Linked DNA regions of Homo sapiens: region 1 is linked to region 2. The links are contacts of gene promoters, found by promoter capture Hi-C in blood cells and fetal thymus (Javierre and others, 2016). All regions are on one chromosome and are shown on one strand. Each heading gives the region's core, a stretch centred on a gene start or on the middle of the fragment in contact. The rest is flanking DNA. Distances are from core to core; before and after follow the strand shown.

Evidence for each region. Contacts are between HindIII fragments. The CHiCAGO score rates a contact against its expected background, and 5 or more counts as called.
Region 1: a contact is called between a fragment that was not itself captured here and the fragment with the promoter of OR5A2 in region 2, in 2 of 17 cell types (total B cells and M0 macrophages). The highest score is 6.2, in total B cells.

The regions. Positions count from the first base shown.
Region 1 is chr11:59,299,636-59,302,812 of GRCh38, reverse strand. No RefSeq gene overlaps it. Among named protein-coding and RNA genes, the nearest start is that of OR5AN1, 58 kb to the left of the region's middle. The HindIII fragment of the contact is 3,668 bases long and covers 1-3,177 here.
Region 2 is chr11:59,424,740-59,427,937 of GRCh38, reverse strand. It overlaps OR5A2 (olfactory receptor family 5 subfamily A member 2), which reads left to right and starts at 1,525. Exons shown (of 2, transcript NM_001001954.2): 1 at 1,525-1,767. The HindIII fragment of the contact is 12,260 bases long and covers 1-3,198 here.

The DNA of each region.
Region 1 (3,177 bases), core at 465-2,964, 130 kb after region 2:
AGAACAGACAGCAGACACTATGGGTGGAAGGCCACAGATGCCCTACAGATGTAGTTGGGCAACTATTTTCTAGGTTTTACCAGGCTGGTTTATAAGTCTATTTGAAGACTGAGAATGATTTTAGAGAACACCTTCTTATATTTACCCTGGACACAGTAAAATAAATAAATGACTGTTTACATTATTTTCAATGAGTGAAAACAGCTACTTACCAAGACAGACAAGACATGCTTTAAGCAAAAGTATAAAATTCTACAACTTTGTCCTCTGTGCCACTGCCTCCCTCTTTAAGCCCCTCTCATCCTAATTCTGGGTTCTTTGTTCCTTCCATTACCACTAGCCTGTGTTCTCATGCAGCTGTCTTTTCCTGTGACTGAAGGCGTCAGCTAAATTCTGGCCCTATCAATGACTGGCTGTGATAGCGTGAGCACTGCCTCAGAGTATCCCTCTCTGAAAAACACTGAAGTGTTTGCTTCAGTCTCAAAATCTGGTCCAGTTTCCTTAATTTTGAGGATTCCTTTGCTTGACATTGCCATCTACTGTTCCTACTTTTCCATTTTCTTCTCTCCTTTCACTGCTACACTGGCATAACTTCCTTCAATACCTGGCTTTGCTCTAATCCCCTCTCAGCCCCATTCCAGATATCCCTATCTGAGACTGGTGAGTTCTACCCTAACAAATCTGTTGAAATTGTGCTGGTAAGACCACATCTTCCTTCGTTCTTGCCAAATCAACAGCTCTCTGCTCATATTTTTCCCCCTTGAGTTCCATGTCATGTTCACTAAGTATCACCGGGTGGTGACAGCCTTGAGGATCAGGATAAGGAATTTGGATGTCATCAGGCCATGAATGAACAACAAAAATAATGAAGGCTCTTGAGCAAAGAATGACATGATTGGATTTGTACTTTAGGGAGGCTCACTTGCAGATTAAGGAGGAAGGATTGAATTGGAGAGTCTGAAGGCAAATTGTTAACAATCACTTTAAAATTGAGTGAGTCCCCGCTGATGTCAAAAAATTGCCTGGAGGTAGAGATGGCATGAAAGAAGGATTCTATTGATTCTATAGATAATTAGATCTATGGATAAGTAGTATCAAAGAACAGGAGAATCTATTCTGAAGGAGGGGGCAAGGGAGGCAGGAATTGTAAAACACCACAGTCTTCTCTTCTAGTTTGCTATCCTTACACCCTTCAGTCCACAATAAGAAGTGAAAAAACAGAGGTTTCTTTAGGTTTTCAGGTTTTTTTTTCCACACAAAAGATTTAATTACAAACTACTGCATTGGTCATAGTAATCATTTCCCCAATATCTAGCCTTAGAGAGAGACCCCAAGAATGCAGGCGTGATGCCCAGAGCTGGGAACTCGAGGAGGGGGTATAATTTGCTTAGCTTCACAGTAGGAGACTCTGGCCCTGGCAGAGGAGAAACTGATTGAATTTTGGGTGGAGAAGGGAAACTGTAACATATTTTTCTCATCTGGATGCAAGTTGAAGAGCTGCCAACATCAGCAGGGTATGGCCACCATCTTTCACAAATCCTTGAAAGAAGCTGTAGTGTCCTGTGGGTTTACACAATGCCCACTTCCTTCTGTTTCTTGAGTGTTCCTCCCCAAATAGAGCCCCAAACTATTTTTGTAAATAAAGACTTATTGAAACAAATTCATGTGCATGCATTTTCTTATCACCTACTTTTGTGGTACAATGGCAGTTAGATAGTTACCACAGAAACCATTTGGTTGCAAAGCCTGAAATATTTACTAGCTGATCATTTAAAGAAAATGCTTGTCAACCACATTCTAAAAAAGTCCTAAAATGAATTTTTTGACAAAGATACTAAATCACTTCTTTTTTTTTGGTCGGGGGAAGTCCCTCTCTGTCACCCAGGCTGGAGTGCAGTGGCTCAATCTCGGCTCACTGCAACCTCCACCTCCCAGGTTCGAGCAATTCCCCTGCCTCAGCCTCCCTAGTAGCTGGGATTACAGGCGTGTGCCACCAAGCCCAGCTAATTTTTGTATTTTTAGTAGAGGTAGGGTTTCACCATGTTGGCCATGCTGTTCTTGAATTCCTGACCTCAGGTGATCCACCCACTTCAGCCTCCCAAAGTTCTGGGATTGCAGGTGTGAGCCACTATGCCCGGCTGCAAGTAATCACTTCTCATTTACCTGTGCCATTAATCCAGATGACATTGCAATCAGATTGTTTTCCTTAGAGAGATTCATGGCTTTGTTTAGGATATTAGTAAACATATTGTCTCTGTGAGTCAATATGATGTCCCATAGTGTCAAATAGGTAACCAGGGAGAAAGTCAAGTTCCTTAGACTCTCTAACATGCCTCTTCCCCTACTCACATCCTGAAGACTGCATAGCAAGCTCAGCAAAACTGAGAGCTGATATACATTGAGCTCCTGTCTGCGCCTTGTAGAGCTTTACATGGAGGATTGCAGCCAATCCTCTCAGCAACTGCACCTACTGTACAGAGGAAGCTCCTATTGTTTGTGTTTCACAGTTGGTAAGATGAGGGCTCAGGGAAACTCCAGGACTTGTGCAAAGTTACCTGTTGGGCTAGAATGTTGTCTATATTTCAATTCTGAAATCTCTATTTCCCATCCATATTTGTCATTCTAGCAGTTGAGATATTTGAGTAACTAGCAAAGCAAGAACAAAGTCTAGAGACTGAATAGACTCACAATCCAGGCTTTGCTCTTAATCTCATATTGAGATTACCAATAAATAGAAGAGGCAATAGGAATATTTCAATAGGGGACCCAAAGCTCCCAATTCTACATAATTCTGTGATGGAAGAACCACTTAAAGTGCTTTATTCATCTTAACTTATTCATGGTTATTTCAGGTAGAAAGAAAAATGGTGGCAATTTTTACTTTGCTTTAGCTCAAGTTTATCTGAATATCCCATGGTAAAAGAGGAAAAGATTGAATGTGAGATTGGCTTTATGTTACCCAATAATGTAATAAATTTAGAAATATGAAATCTGCCAGTAGTTAACCTAGAGAGACCAAGCACAGTTCAGTCTCTTCTTTTGTTCAAATCTTCCTCAAGAAGGAAGTCATGTGACAGGGAAGATGTGGAGACTGAGAAATAAGGACATAAGAGAAATTCCACTGTGTGTTTCCAGTCTTGTGTGTGCAAAGCTCTTCATGTTAAATCATTTTCAGCT
Region 2 (3,198 bases), core at 276-2,775:
CAGCCTCCTGAGTAGCTGGGACTACAGGTGCCCGCCACCACGCCTGGCTAATTTTTTTTTTGTTTGTATTTTTAGTAGAGACGGGGTTTCACCGTGTTAACTAGGATAGTCTCAATTTCCTGACCTCGTGATCTGCCCGCCTCGGCCTCCCAAAGTGCTGGGATTACAGGCATGAGCCACCGCGCCCGGCCCTTATCAGCCTTTTCTAATCCTAGAAAAATGTATCCTTCATAACTGTGAGATCTACCTTTTAAATTTCCCAGATCTTAACTCAGTATCAAACTCTTTCATAGTTAGTTGGGGTTTACTCTTTCAGCATCAGAATTTCCTAGGACAGTTTATCTTCAAACTTAGATAAGAATGTTTCTTTTGAGGATGGACTTCCTTGCCTTTTCATGTTCACAGTTGATTCTTGAAGACATTTACCTCCGTTTCTGTCAACAGTCTTAGTTGCTAAATTTCTTCCCTAAATTAAGCCTGTTACCTTGTAAGTCAAGAGTCTCAGTAATTATACCCCTTTATATAGAAGACATTTCTCTCATTTAATTTTTTTTCTTTTGAGACTGAGGATTGCTGACTTAGTCTCCATGAAATAGATGAATTCATTTTTTATAAACTTTATTTCTGAAGAAAACATTTAAAAAAACAGGAAATCAATGTTTTGAAACATCAGACTTTCAGGGCTGGAGGAATTCTTGGAGAGTGAGCCCAATTCACTCAGGCTGGAGGGGTTAATTGACTTGCCCACAGTGACTCATCCAGGTAGTGGCATTGCTGGTAGTAGCACCCAAAATATTAAAAAGAGAAAAGAAGAGCCCCATCAAGCCCTTCATCCCATCCAGCCTCATTAAAAAAAATAAAGAGAAAAGAAATCTTTTCATCGTGATGCAAATAAGTCACAATAAAAAGATAGAAAGGAAAGACATATTTTTGGCCATGACCCAAGAAACAGAGTTAATGACATCATTAGTTTACATTCATTGAGTGATTTCTGTTTGTTAGGCACTGTGCTAAGCCTTTCTTATTCACAGCTTATTTAATTATCACAACTCTGTTGAGGTAGGTATTCTTGTTACACCAGTTTTACAAATGAGGGAGTTGATAAGTTTAAGACATTAAACAACATTGAACATGTTTATATTGATAAAAGGGCAGAGCCAGAATTTAAACCCAATTCTCAGAGTTGGAAACATGTGTTTCTAACCAGTATATTTCAGCACAAGGCTTGGTGTGTTTATGTGTGATTTACTTCTGATGAAATTTCTTTTAAGCAAAAGGCATCTACTAACCCAGCAGGGAGTCTTCCTGGACTCAAATCAGGGAAAGCTCAGAGAAGAATAGGTAGGGGGATGGAAAGAGGCTCCCGTGATGAGCGGTTGGCTCTTTTCGCCACCACTCCAGGGAACAATTAGTGCTCAGAAATGTTTAGCTCTAATGATTGCTGGGCTTTTTATGTTGGACCCTGGAGTGAGTGGCAGAGGGCAGCCTCTTGGGGAAAGAATGTGGCTACCTCTGCCCATTAAAATAATGAACTCCCACAGCCCATTTATTTGGAAGACTTGTTAACAAAGGAGCGGAGATTCCAGAAGCATGGTTTACTATTTACATGAGGCCAAAGCATAAGAAATTGATGGAACGAGAAACCAGCCATGGAGCAGTGGGAAATGCAGATGATCTGGTTTGCAAAAGATGTTATGGCAACAAAGCAATCAATATTTCTTCTCTTGTAGCACAAGATTGCAGGACCCTTCTGCCCAATGCAATCCAGTAAGTCCAGCTCATTCCCTCCTACCTCATCCATTCAGCAGCAAATCACAACTATGCATTTACAGCCTATTCTACCTTTTATTTGTAAAATGGGGCGAGAAACGCTGCCACTTCTTGAGTCTATTAGGAGAATTAAATGGGTTTATAAAAATCAAGTCTTTCAAACAGTACCTCGCACACAATAAGTACTAAATAAGTGTTTGATTATATTATTATATTATGATCGTTATATGATTATTGTTTGTGATTAATTATATATTATGTGTTTTGTTCTTATAATAGTAACACACCAAATATAGTAAGTCATAGGCCAAACCCTTCTGGTAAACTCTGAGGATAAGTGGTGGAAAAAAATCTATTTATTCAGCAAAATATTTAGTGGGCACCTATGTCCCAGGCCCTGTTCTTTGTACTTATGATAAAACTGTCTTTGCAAAATTATAACTGAGGAAATTATGACAGTCAAAGAAATCATATCTACCTGACTCCATCTTGCTTCTAATCTTTAAGCTGTCTTTGTCCATTCTTGGGCATAAGCTGAAGTAACTTTGGGAAGGAATTCAGTTCATGGTTTGACTCTGAAACAAAATTAATAGCAGCTCTTTCCTGAAGAGACCCCCCTTTTGCCTAGGGACCAGTCTGTCTTTGCAGGACTAACAAATTAGCTGCAAGATTAGAAATTACTGTTTAGGGGTCATGCAGCCTCTGACTCCAAGAGTATAAACCTTCCCAAATTGGCCCCGGGGATAACATCACTACTGTAAAACCTAAGATCAGTGCTTGAGATATTTTGCAGACCCTGCACTAGATGGATCAGCTGACACCACCCAGACCCGTTAACTGGCTCAACCAGTTCTGCCATCCCACCCAGGAACAGAAGACAGCAAGAAAAACTCACTTCGACCCATTTGATTCCATCTCCAGCCTAACCAATCAGCATTCCCCACTTCCCAAGCCCCTACTCGCCAAATTATCTTTAAAAACTCTGATCCCTGATGCTCAGGGAGACTAATTTGAGTAATAATAAAACTCCAGTCCTCCTGCACAACCAGCTCTGCCTGAATTACTCTTTCTCCATTGCAATTCCCCTGTCTTGATAAATGAGCTCTGTCTAGGCAGTGGGCAAGGTGAACCCATTGGGTGGTTACAAGGATAGATCAGGAAACAGAATGGGCAAAACTCCCTGCCTGTCTTTGAGTAACTTACATTCTGGTAGGGAAGATTTCACCAAGATAAGAGATACCAAATTCCTCTTACTTCCTTTTTGATAGGATTAAATAGATTGATGTTTTAGTGAAGATCAATCTAGGCTCGTCTTGGTTTTGACTGCTTGACCAGTGATTTGAGGGGAGATTAGAAATTTGTAAAAAACACAAAGCTAGGAGCAGTTTTTAATATGATAAGTGACACAGAACCACAGTTACCATTGGG